Linked DNA regions of Homo sapiens: all the other regions are linked to region 4. Evidence: promoter capture Hi-C in human tissues and cell types (Jung and others, 2019). All regions are on one chromosome and are shown on one strand. The core of a region is centred on a gene start or on the middle of the fragment in contact, and the rest is flanking DNA. Distances in the headings are between cores, read along the strand shown.

Evidence for each region. The method cuts DNA at HindIII sites, captures the fragments that hold promoters and counts their contacts. A contact is called where the count stands out against the background at its distance.
Region 1: a contact is called between a fragment that was not itself captured here and the fragment with the promoter of CLEC7A in region 4, in 3 of the 25 tissues and cell types used here (lymphoblastoid cells, mesendoderm cells and thymus).
Region 2: a contact is called between a fragment that was not itself captured here and the fragment with the promoter of CLEC7A in region 4, in 1 of the 25 tissues and cell types used here (mesenchymal stem cells).
Region 3: a fragment that was not itself captured here is called in contact with the fragment with the promoter of CLEC7A in region 4 in 2 of the 25 tissues and cell types used here (H1 embryonic stem cells and mesendoderm cells).

What each region holds. Positions count from the first base shown.
Region 1 is chr12:9,941,717-9,945,054 of GRCh38, forward strand. LINC02470 (long intergenic non-protein coding RNA 2470) reads right to left here and starts at 1,779. Exons shown (of 5, transcript NR_104634.2): 1 at 1,414-1,779; 2 at 773-856. The HindIII fragment of the contact is 3,847 bases long and covers 115-3,338 here.
Region 2 is chr12:9,991,044-9,994,152 of GRCh38, forward strand. It overlaps CLEC1B (C-type lectin domain family 1 member B), which reads right to left. Exons shown (of 6, transcript NM_016509.4): 6 at 2,032-2,244. The coding sequence ends at 2,100. It also overlaps a transcript of CLEC12A not described here. Among named protein-coding and RNA genes, the nearest start is that of CLEC1B, 6.5 kb to the right of the region's middle. The HindIII fragment of the contact is 4,209 bases long and covers 1-3,109 here.
Region 3 is chr12:9,971,955-9,975,272 of GRCh38, forward strand. The region is part of intron 1 of CLEC12A (C-type lectin domain family 12 member A); the gene reads left to right. Among named protein-coding and RNA genes, the nearest start is that of CLEC12A, 2.2 kb to the left of the region's middle. The HindIII fragment of the contact is 8,813 bases long and covers 1-3,318 here.
Region 4 is chr12:10,128,305-10,131,814 of GRCh38, forward strand. It overlaps CLEC7A (C-type lectin domain containing 7A), which reads right to left and starts at 1,895. Exons shown (of 6, transcript NM_197947.3): 1 at 1,676-1,895. The coding sequence starts at 1,778. LOC105369655 (a long non-coding RNA gene) reads left to right here. Exons shown (of 4, transcript XR_007063208.1): 2 at 2,777-2,936; 3 at 3,381-3,488. The HindIII fragment of the contact is 18,210 bases long and covers 1-3,510 here.

The sequences.
Region 1 (3,338 bases), core at 788-3,287, 190 kb before region 4:
GTCTAGGCAGAGTGTAGGGGCAGAGATGGAGTAAGTAAGCTGGTGTGGTGATGGGAGCATTTGGAAGTTTCCTACAAATTGTTAAAATTAGAACAAGTTGGAAGCAAGGGTATAGACATGAGAATGAGCATGAGGAGAATGGAGATGAAGGACAAGGTATAAATTGCTAATGAATGGCAGTGAAAGAGTTAATGCACTAGGGAACTATAATACAATTGCCAGTCCCTCACCCTACTTCTTTGTAACTCCATCATAATTATACCTGGTGTGATTCTCTGACATGTGTGTTCTAAGATGATCTTTGATAAACGCCTACTTGAGTTTAAGATTCAGCACAAATATTTCTCCCTTCATTAAAGCCTTGACTACAAGCAGCTAACTTATAATCTCCTCTCCTGCTTCAAATTCAACATAGTTCTATTTAGTAATTATTTCTTTTGTGTTACAGTTGTTTGCTTACATGCTTCCATATTCAGTTAAAGATAAACTACTTTCAGGCAAGAAATACCATTTTTTTTCATTGTTATATCATCAGCAGGCAGCACTGTGCCTAAAGCTTGATACATATTTATTGAAAGACTGATTATTCTAGAAGGTGAAGCAGGTGACTAAGTTTGAAGAGCAATTAGATGCACTGTCTTGGAAAATGCTTTTATCTCTAAATTGTTCTATATTAAGGAAGGAAAGACTAGTTATTGGTATCCAACTGAATCAATAATACAATAATTTTAACAATTTAATTTAATAATTTTAGCAGAAATTGTTTACTTACATTTTCTGGGAAATCTTAAAATCCCCCAAAGAAGAAAAGCAATGCCTCCACATATAAAAATTGAGATGATCATTATTTTCCTTTCTATTATACCAAAGAGAAACAGATGTCATTGTTTATGTTCCAGAGAGAAAAAAAGCAAGCAAACCAACAAAAAACCCATCATGTTTATCTCTTTTCTCTATCTTCCGCGTGTTCTACTGTTCACAATTCAGCAATTAATGTATTAGAAAAATAAGAAAGGGAACTAAGACCTAACGTTTGAACATCAGGAGCCTCGAAGGTGCTTTGGCTCCACTTTCCTGTGCTATTTGGCAGAACTGTGTTACTAATTCTTCTGCCCTGCTTCCAGAACAGAAAACCAACAGTTTCCTCGCAGCGTCTTTTAATAAAATACTGCCTTTTCCAAGGGAAAATTCCAAGTATTTTTAATGAAATACTGTCTTTTCCAATATGATGGAGGAGGCTGGAATCGCCAATTATCATTATTATTGAAGTCTTTGTTTTATTAATGAAAACTGCTTTTACTTAAGATCTATATTATGGTCGCTATCCCCTACCCTGCCCTTCCCTCCCAATGCTAAAAGGGTGCAAGCTAGGATCAAGAAAAGATGCTAGAATAATCACACAACCTCACCCACCTGGCGTGTTGGTCTGCTGCTCCACAACCTCCGTCCCATCCTTACTCTCCATCCCTTCTCCCTCCATCTCCAACCCTCACGAGGAAGGCTCATCCTTCTGTGTGTGATCACAGAGGCTGGAATAATCCTGCGGGTGAATTGCAAATTGCTAAGTATATTTGGTGAGTGCAAACCGCAGGAAACTGACGACCCGGTTTTTCTGAGGGGTGGTGCGGCAGCAAGACAGTAGGAGAAACAGCACAGCAACCTAGCATCCTCCACTCAGCCGCGCAGGTGGACTTGGGCCAGATGGCCCCCAGGGGCGTGTCATGTGCCTTCTCTGACGTTTGTACGAGGCAGGGGCAGCAACGGCAGCCGGGCATGCACCAACGGTGCCTCTGCCCCGGCAGCGATGACTCTACAGCCCATGATTTCCGCAGCCCACGATTGGCTGGGGCACAGCGATAAGAATTCAACCTAATGGGCACCTCACCTCCCACCTGCTTGGTACGCAGAGCAGAGAATGGGGAGTCCCATACCCTCCCTTTCCGGCTTCTTTATATTGTCTCCCTAAAAATCTCCGATTGGACACAGGTATATAACATAAATTGCCTGCACTGGAAAGTGTACACATTCTCTCACGCCACAAAGTGGATCTGCCCCCATTTTCTTGTTTTTAATAACTTTTTTCTGTTCTACATTTTTAACCACTGTGTTCTAAGTGTACCTGTGGAGTGTTTAGTAAAATGTGGGAAAACAAAGCCATTGTTTTTACATGTTTTCATAGGAACTAATGAAAGCTTGTTTCATATACAGGCAGTTTTTATTTTGCACTGTAGTGTGTGATAATAAAAATTACTGCACAAGCTGATATCACACCAAGCTATTTTAATAATAGGGAAAAGTATGATTTTTCCTTTATCCTCTTTTCCTGATTGAAAATTACTTTACTGTCACTCATAAACGTATAGGGAAATGTAAACAACAATAAAATTAATATTTTTAAAGTATGCTATAATTAAAACATTAAAAACACTGAGTTTCAAGTGTTTTGCTTAAAAGAAAATGAGTAGTGTGAATTGAGTACGTGCTGTTGTTGTTCTATCGCTTACAATATGGAGCCAGCATCTTTTAGATGCCTTCTCAAGCTTTTTTATTCCTAAATTTGGATAGACTTCCAATATACTATTCTTTGCACTTGAAATGTTAGGAAACACATTGAGAGTTCATTTGATGTGAACACTTTAGCTCGTATAACTTCCTCTGGGACCTCTTCATTCTTTTCATCACAACCACTTACCTTATTTTTGTCAATAAGTGTGCCTTTACTAAATTCCTCTGGTTGCATTATCTAGAGACTCTTCAAAAGGTGAATTATTAATAACCCTATCAACAGCTATTGCTTCTCTAACTTCATTTCTCTTCTATTTTATTTCCCCTTTCAGCGCCATCATTTTTTGCTGCACTTTGTGTCACTAACCAATTTCCTGTTTCAATTACCTTCCTCTTCTTGTCTTCCTGTTTCAAATTTCCTTTGGAATTTGTCATACAGTGACAAACCCATGTGACATTTACAAAATAATACAGAATAACTCTCCATCTTATTCTGTATTAACTGATAAAAGATGCATGGTGACCAATCAATCATTGACAGACTTGGAAAAAAGTGACATGGTTGGTCGTTAATCACAATACAAACATGTATATAGTGATTCGTGAACTGAAAAACTAGCATGGAAGTTTCTACTTTATACAATTACTTACAGTAAATATAATACAAATACAGATAAGTACGCTGAAAGAATTAAACTGTGCTGTTGGGGAGTTATTTAATTAAACTGTGAGAAGTGAAGTTTATGCATATTAGAACCACGCAAAGTAAAGTTTATACACACACCCTACTCCCCACAGACATTCTCTTTAAAATATACATATACGGCCGGGCA
Region 2 (3,109 bases), core at 565-3,064, 140 kb before region 4:
ACTTTTACACGAATTGGGAAAGCAAATAATTAATGTGACTCACTTTATTGCAATAATTGCTTTATTGTGGTGGTCTGGAACTGAACCCACAATATTTCCGAGGCATGCCTGTAAGTTAGTTTTAAATTGAAGAAGACAGAAGTCAAATTTTGCTGGAGTTCACTTAGATGACATGTAGAAGATTTAGTATTTGAAATGAGGTGGTCTGATCTGTGCTACTAACGTTTGTGCTATTTTGATTTTATGTATAAGATACTTTAGATATGAATACCAGAAAAAGAATCACAGTGATTGGCCTACATTTTTAATTGTATTGTTGCCATGCACTAAGATATTATTCTTCTAAGTTTATGTGTGCTATAGGGATGTATACACATATGTTTTTCCATTTTAGGGAGATGAAACAAAGTTGAGTTGCTAATTTTGTACAGTTTTCTGAATTATTGGTTCCTATTTAGTTTCTCTAAATAGACAATTCAAAATAAAAAACATACTGATACCATCACCCAAATCCAAGATCTCCAGACATTTGAAGTAACAAGTAAAATTTGAGGTATTTCTATTATTTTTCCTAAGCCCTCCAAATCTGCTTAATTATTGATAGGCTAGAAAAAAGATAAAGATTCAAGTGTCTTTCAGTGTTAGCGCACAAAGCTTTAAGAGTAACACATATTTATTGAGTATGTATTACATACTTGGTATTCTGATCGATACTTTATATAATCATATTAAATGAGCTTCACAATTAACTTATGAGCAAGGTAATAATATTAAACCCATTTCAAGGTGAGAACATTACTTATCCAAAGCCAGATAGAGAGTAAGTTCTAAAGTAGTGATATTTCTCTAACTGTATTAAAGACTACTTGTATGAGAATTGTGTCGTGATGCTGGTAAAAACCCAGGTCTCTGTGTCTCCTCAGTCTTCCCACTGAGTAACATCAGCATTTGAGTTTCCTATTTGGTTTCTCTATGTTTTAACCAAAACCTCCGTTGAGATGTTTGAGAATCATGTTCGTAAATGGTAGCCACTAGTTAAAAAAGGGAAGCTGTGGGAAAGAAATGCAATTTTTTCCTATTATCCTGTAAAAGGGTGCCTTTCCACATATTCTGTAAATACTTCCTGAGTTACTCAGCAAAAATAAAGCACAGAACTGTTAGGAAAATACTAATTAAAGCATTTTTACTTGTCCTTCTGTCTAGTAGCCTCTGAAACTTAAGAAGCATTTATTCATTTTACAAACCCAGTGAGTTTTCTTGCAAACTTTCTTTTCCTTCTCTAGCGCAGAAAATTACTACTGTTGAATCTAACCAGAGGTAGACTTGGAATAGTAATTCTATTTGCGTAATGTTTTAATGATTGAGCTATTTTTCTCATGAACTATCTTATACAAAGAGAAACAAATATCTCTCTGTTTTGTGAGCCAGGGTTTCGGGTTGGTGCTGGTAAGAGAATAGTGAATGGGGAAGTCATAGTGTTCGCTTTCATGGAGTTTCTGGTACAGTTAACACTCTAAAGTTCTATTTTAGGTTGTAGAACTGTGAGATATAAAAGATGGTTGTTATTATTCCTATTTTAAATATGAGAAAAGGGAAGTTAAAGAGGTTATGAAACTTGTTCATGATTGTAATTTAGTTAATTGACATCTAAATTATTTTGCTGATTCTAAGTTTAATATTCTTTTTACTATCTTACACCGCCTTTCAAACTTAGATATTTTGGACAGATTTCAAACATAGATATTTTGCACAACTTATATTAATTAAGCCCTAACCTATATTGGCCTGATTTTGATGTTATATGTGTATATCTGAAGATGCAGTAAATCATACCATGTTCAGGTAATTAGAAATGAAGGACAAGAAGAAAGAAAATTAAAGGAAAATAGAACAATTGGGAAGCAAATGATAAACTCACGTGATGGCTTCTGTATATTCAAAGAAGGGACTAGGTAATTCTGATAGGAAAGATAATATTAAAAATAACTCCAGTGAGAAGAAAGGGAGAAATAAGCAATTTTCAGCTACTGATGCATTCATACATATCTTTTATTGTACAATAAAGCCCTTATCTGTGTTATCCTGTCCACCTCTTTGCATTAAGGTAGTTGGTCCACCTTGGTCATGCCAGCCTTCCTCTCACACATTAAATAATGTTTGTTCTCACAGAAGGTAGGGTGCATTTTCCCATTATGAAAATAAGCACAATTCATATTTCCTTTTCCATCTTCCAAAAACTCAAACCTGTGAAGGGAAAGTTAGAATAAATTCCTTTGAAAACTGAGCAAACAATCAGTAATCAGACTCTGCGTATAGTAGTTTGATGCACCAAATAGAGACTGAGGAAAATAGGAAAAAAAAACAAAAAAAAAAACGATTCTCATTGTTGAGAAAGTTCCACCCTGCTTGGCAGTACAAGATATGCATATTTAAAAAGCCCAATATCAATTTCATTTAGCATAAAATTAGGAGCAAGGGAACAGTAGGTACAATAGGAGCCCTGAAGAAGTGATGGAGATGGCTCCAAAATAATGGGAAAACGCATTATCTACAAGATCAGACTTTAGTTCGGTATTGATGGAAGGTCAGGACTCAGATGAACTGACAGGAGATGGAAGAGCCCTACAGGACAAGTAGCTGCACTAGATGGGAATACGCTCATGGAAAAGTGAGTTGATTCAGTAGTTTTGAAATCAGGATTTATGTTGCAAGATAAATCATCTAACACAGCAGGCTGTATTGTAATTGTCTGTTAAGTTATATTTCTTTCTTTCTAAACTGCTTATAATGAGATGACAAGGAATATATACTTATTGGTTTATTTGGAGAATACCTGCAGAACTATGTGACAAAGTTGTTCTATGTGCTGAGGATACACTGATAAAGAAAGACAAGAAAGCTAATGTCTTTCTTGTTGGGGAACTTTCATTTAAGTGGGGCGATACCGGTAAGAAGCCCACAAAAAATAGACAAGAAAAATTGAGACAGTGGTAAGAGTTACAAAGAAACAAAACAGTGGTGGACTGTATGGATATGGGTTTAAGGGAGGCTAATTTAGTTTGGGTAGAGTTAGGTTCACTGAAGAAGTGATGTTTAAATAGAGACTTGA
Region 3 (3,318 bases), core at 715-3,214, 160 kb before region 4:
CAAATGATTGGGTTGTATGAAGATTTTATTTCTTTATGAGATGAAGCCATGGAAAAAGAAACATGTTCAGGAAAGTCATGATTTCATATGTGTGTGTGTGTGTGTGTTTTTTTTTTTATAAGAAAATGCTTTGTGTCAGACAGAGAGACCTTTATAGGATTTCATTTGACTATCTACCAAACTAAGCATAAATCACCCTAAAATTTCTCCTACTTCTTTTGGAGATTTTTTACTAACTTACTAAAAAATAAAACATGTTAAGTTAAATGAAATGAATCATTAAGGAATAAAGGAAGAAAAGAGGTAAAGAAATATCAGAAGACATAATATATTCATAATATTCAAAACCACATTATATCAAGTAACTTTGTATTTTTCAATTCAAATTAAAATCATGAAATAAGTGGTCCATCTGTGTTGACTTTCACTTAAACAAAACTACTCTTCATCTTACTCAGAATCCTATAGTTTTCCTATTATGTATGGTTCTTGCCTTCTGGCTCCTAGCCTTTTGGGAGTGAAATCTGCCCTAGCGAATCCATAGTTTAAATCAGTGTATTTGAGTTAAAAATAACTTAAACAGTGATAGTGGAGAACACAAAGAAGGGTGATAGAAACAGAAAAATAAGGAGAGAAGAGTGCCAAAATTCTCACATATTATTTAAGTTGTTGTCCTCTCTCCTCTCCCCACACAGAATATAACATCTTTAATATTCTAGCATTGCTATAAACAGAAATTTCACTGTTACATCTTGGATCCATTTATGATGAGCATTGTAAATCTTGAGAAAGGATAGCAGATTAATTCTGTTGGCTTCTTTTTTAATACTGAAATTTTTTTTTAGAAAGAAGAAGGGTTTAAGAATTTTACAATATTTTCTGTCTTTATTTCCTTGTTTATATTTCTTCTTTTATACACTGAAAGAGAATGGGCATATCATGAGCCTAATATTACCAACAATTGCCCTTTACTTGTCCTCTCACACCCTTTCCCACCTCTTTTCCTGCCAATCCACCTTAAGTTCCCACCACAAGAATTCCCTGAATTCACGGAAATATTGAATCCATGTCTTCTTCATGTTCTTAATCTCATCTAATTTTCTCATTATCGAGCTTAGAATCTACATTATGTAATATAACATTGTATTATGTAATGTCTACTCTTAGTCTCTTACACTTCTCCTCTTCAATGTGTGTTAATTTTTCCTTAAAAACTCCAGCTCTGGCTAGGTGCAGTGGCTCATACCCATAGTCCTAGCACTTTGAGAGGCCAAGATGGGAGGATTATTTGAGGCCAGAAGTTTGAGACCAGCCTGGGGAAAGTAGAGATATGCCATGTCTATAAAAAAAAAATTTTTTTAATTAACTGGGCACCCATAGTCTCAGCTGCTTGGGAGGCTGAGGAAAGAGGATTACTTGAGTCCAGGAGTTGGAGGCTCTAGTAAGCTAAGATCAGGCGAGTGTACTCCAGTCTGGGTGACACAGCAAGATCCTGCCTCAAACAAATCAAAACAAAACAAGACAAAAACCCCAAAAACAAACAAATAAAAACAACTCCAGTTCTGGTTAAACCCGAATATCCACCCAGTCTGCCCCAGAGTTGAATATTGCTGGTGAAAAATACACAAATTTTCAACCCCAGTTACTCTCACCTTTCCTCTGGTAAGAAAAAAGCATCCATCTACACTTTTTTTTGTTGTTATTTAAATGTCTATCCTACCATGTCCTTACTGATACTCTGCTTTCCTTCCAGATAGTATTTACGATAAGTATGTACTTATGAAGGGACGGCTCCTCATTTTGCTCTGAATTTCAGTCCATGTGTCGTTTTCAAAGACAGACTTCCGTAATTTTTTCCTTTCTCTCCTGTGTCATTATTCTCTCTTCCTTCTCTGCTTTTCCTTTTTGGTGCACCAACATACTCTACTACTCACCAATATACTCTGCTACTCCTTTTATAACAAAACACAATCCTTGCTTGACCACTTAAGCCTTTCCATTATTATTTAACTTCTTTGTTTCCTTTCACAACTCAACTTTTGAAAGCATTTTCTTTGGCCACTGACTCTCAGTTCTTCACCTCTCATTCTGTTCTCAACCAACTCTATTAGGCTTCTGCCCCCTTGGTGCCATAGAGACTGAGCTTTAGGTCACTGATGTCCTGCCTGTTTCATCCCAATAGTCACATGTCTCTTCCATTACTTCACTTCCCTGCAGCATTGAAAAAGTTGAACAGTCCTCTAAATGCTTTCTTTGCACATCCCTCCTGACACATCCTCATGGCTTCTCCTGTCACCATGCCTGCCTCTCCTCATTCTTTGTTGATTCCTCCTCCTAGATGAAACTCTACAAGATGGAATACTCTGAAGCCCTGTCCTGGGTCCCGTTTTATTGCATCACTCAGTACACTCTTCTAATCTACCTCATTCAGTTGTTTGACTTTAAATAGAGTGACTCCCCAATATCTCTGTATGACCTTTCCCTGAATCTCAAGACTAGAAAATACATGTGCCACTTTCACATTTCCATAAGGAGTTCTAATCTCATTTTAAACTTAAAATGTCAAAAATAGTAATATTTATTTTTCTTCTAAAATTGTCTCTCTCTCCAGACAGCCTCATCTCATTAAATACACATATAAATATATATTTAAATACAATTTTCAAGTGTTTTCTCTGTGCCAGTTCTGTTCTAATTGCATTATAAATATTAAATTATTTAGTGTCTGATACTTTGCAGTCTTTCTGTCTCCCATGCTTTAACCATATTGAAACTCAGACACAGAGATGTTAAAAGGTGTTAAATAATTTTCCCGAGGTTTCACAAGCAATAAGCAGCAGAACCAGAATTCAAACCAAAACATACTGATATGGTTTGACTGTGTCTCCACCCAAATCTCATCTTGAATTGTAGCTCCCATAAGTCCCACATGCTGTAGGAGGGACATGGTGGGAGGTAATTGAATCATGGGAGCGGGTTTTTCCCATGCTGTTCTTGTGATAGTGAATAAGTCTCATGAGATCTGATGGTTTTATAAAGAGGAGTTTTCCTGCACAAGTTCTCTCTTGTCTGTGGCCATGTGAGATGTGCCTTTCACCTTCCACCATGAGTGTGAGGCCTCTCCAGCCACATGGAACCATGAGTCCATTAAACCTCTTTTTACTTATAAATTACCCAGTTGTGGGTATGTCTTTATCAGTCGTGTGAAAATGAACTAATGCAGTAAATTGGTACCAATAGAGTAGGGCGCTGCTGTAAAGATACCCAAAAATCTGAAAGAGACTTTGGGACTGGGCAACAGGCAGAGGTTGGAATACT
Region 4 (3,510 bases), core at 645-3,144:
CCTAGGTTACCTGGTCACCTAGGATTTGCTGTGCTTCTCCACCAGTAAGGATACCTTCTTCTTCAATTGCTGGAATTGTAATTTCGGCACATTGGCTTGATAACTGTATGCTCCTAATTTCAGTTCCACATTGACATCTACAGGTCTTGACATTAGTAGGATCCCTGAAATCCCACTGATTCTTAGAGGAAATAGCTTAATGTTGGGGAGATAGCACTGATTACTAAGGGTAATTTTCCCTTTTCATATGTTTGTTGCATGACCCTGGGCAAATTACTCCCTTTGTTGTTTTTTATTCCTCTTTGTGAAACTGGGGTAATAATATCTCAAAGGATTATTGCGGGAATTAAACGAGCTAACACATATAAAAGCACCTTGTTTAGAGACTGCTAGCACATGATAGGTGTGTTGTTGCAGGATACCGTTTGCCTACACATATGCATAAACATGCGCATGTCTCCCTACCTCTTGCCTCATCCACTTTTTCCACGCTTCCTCAATAGGTTGCCCAAGAAAAGAATTACATCAGTGCTGAGAGGAAAATATTTGTGCAGTGTGAATAACCAGAAAGCAGAAGAAAGCAAACTCTGGTGTCAAAACCGACAAATGATCTCTCTCTCTCAAAGATAATAGGGAACTAATTTTGTATGAACATTGCCATAACCAGAATGTATTTCTGCTTTCCACTGTGACTAAGCTGTCAGGACATTTCATAGAATTGTCACATAGGAGAATCGTAGAGTAGGCTAAATCACCCATTCTATGAATACAGAGATCCTCCAATGCCCTTCTTTCTATTTCATTTCATTTACACTTTGTTTAAGACTCATGTCCTGCTGGTGGGATGTTTTTATCTACCATATGTTCATATATTTTCCATCACTGGTATACCAATAATTGTTTTTTGTTTAAAAACAATTTAAATTAATCTCTTACCACAAAAAAAAAATGTTGTTCATATATATACTTCTTTAAGTTTCCTGGCCTCCATTCGATAATCTAGCCTTTCTATCAAACAAGCAACAAGTCACTCATACAGAAATCCTTTATCTTTGTGTATTATCCCACTTATTACCAATTCCTCACTGATGAAATGTCTATATCTATAGAAAAGAGAAATTCTATTTTCTGCCATCAGACATAATTAATTTAAACACTAATAATTGGTCACTGAATAATTTTCATGAAAAAAGGTTTAGGGTGCATTCAATTTATCTTCAGTGACATCTGAAGCCTTTAAAAGTATATCCATAAAAATATACACATCACGAGGCTCTCAAATTTTCTCCCCTTATATCTTTTTGTTTTGTTTTTATTTTTATTTTTTTTCAGAGATGGAGTCTTGCTCTGCCACCCAGGCTGGAGTGCATTGGCATGATCTTGGCTCACTGCAACCTCCACCTCCCAGGTTCAAGTGATTCTCCTGCCTCAGCCTCCCAAGTACCTGGAACTACAGGCGTGCACCACCATGCCCGGCTAATTTTTGTATTTTTAGTAGAGACAGAGTTTCACCACGTTAGCCAAGCTGGCCTCGAACTCCTGACCTCAGTCAATCCACCCGCCTCGGCCTCCCAAAGTGCTGGGATTACAGGTGTGAGCCACCATGCCTAGCCTCCCCTTATATCTTTTCAAACGGGAGAGCTAAAGGCACACATTAGAAAAAACATATATATACCTTTCTCTGAAACAACAGCTATCCTGGTATTGCTTTGAGAGTCGAAGTGTAATTGAGTATATCCATCTTCATCCAAATTTTCTAAATCAGGATGATATTCCATTGTTCTTGAGAGCCCCTGAATAGATATAGCATTTGGGAGCTCTTTTCTTTCTGCTCCTGAGATGACTGTCTGTGGACAAAAGAGAATCTCTGAGTCAAATCATGTGGGCTAGGTACTTACCGGAGTTTAACAAATTAAGCTTAAGTAGTTCAACCAGATATTCAAGAGCAGGAAATGAAACTATGCTGTGGTAATTTTCCATTTGTACCTTTAGATCCTGTTTCTGAGACTGCTGACTCAGGAAAACTAAAAGGCAGCATAGCAGATGAGTCTTTGTTTCAGACCAAATGTAAGAAAAATGCATACATTAATGTCTTATGCTGCCTTCATTACTCTCACAACTAAGTCTGACATTAATTAATTTAACCGATGCAAACTATTTCAGTTTTGGTGCTCCAAGTTTACCATAACTTTGTTCATGTATTTATTCATGTATTTTTTAAATTACATAAACAGGTACTGGATGCCCACCTTTTCAATTGGTAGGAGCTTACAATACAAGGAAAAATGATACCTATGAAGAAACTCATTGCTTAATAAAGGAAATATATAGATAGGTAAATGAGGGATGGCATGAGGAGATGCATTGTTGTAACAACAGACAGAGAAAACAAATCTCTTTGGGAATTATCAGATATTAACACAAAATAACATTTATTGAACAATTACTATGAGCTAAGTACCACATGTTGTACATATTTTCTTGTTCAATCTCACTTTTCCAAGTCTATATAGTAGGCATTATTATTTCTATTTTCAAATGAAAAAATGAGACAGAAAATTTAGCCTCTTTCTCAGGTTTAAGAAGCTAATTTTAAAAATTTAGAGCAAGGAATCAAATCAAAGCTGACTCTTGCTGCAAAACTCGTGGTCTTTTCTGTTACGCTACACTGCCTCTTTCATCATTCCATACACTTATATTGCAAGGAACAGCTTATGGAAGGTGTTGGGACTGAAATATTATGTTAGATGTTTGATTTTTTTTCCCTCTCTTCCAGTTTCCATAGTAATGATCAAATCAAAGAAATATAGAAAACACCTAACATTGCTGGAAACTGAAGAGGTGTTCAACTCATTTATCCGACCTTGAAGCCAGTAGAGTGCAGGAGACATCTGAGTGTTGTCAAGGATCAACAAATCTGGATACTAGTTAATGTGGTGAGGACAGGTTTTATTCAGTAATACTATTGCAACAGGAACCAGTGCAGCATTAACTGAACTCAACTTCCCCAAAAGTAAAGCTGATGACATTTTAAAGTGGAGTTTGCTAAGGAAAAGATACTGAGTGGTGTTAAGGAAAGTTAATGTGACTAGACTCTCTGGATTTGTTAATTGGCCCTTATCCAGAGGACAGAGAAACTTTGCCTATCTATATGACAGAAGGACATGGTGATAGTTGAAGTGAAGCACCCAGCTAAGTTGGTCCTTATGCTGCATCTGAAAGAAAGAGCAAGATTTATCTCCCTGAATGTTTGCATTTCAAAGAAACAGCTCCCAAGTCCTTGAAGAAACAGTTCTGTGTGGTAGATTTGCTTCTCAAAGGGCAGAGAAAGAATTTAACTGTAAGATTTATTTTTCTTTTCTTTCTTTTTTTTTTTTTAGACGAAATTTCGCTCTTGTTGCCCAGGCTGGTGTGCAAATGGCACGATCTCGGCTCACCACAACCTCCGCCTCCCGGGTTCAAGCGATTCTCCTGCCTCAGCCTCCTGAGTAAGCTGGGATTACAGGCATG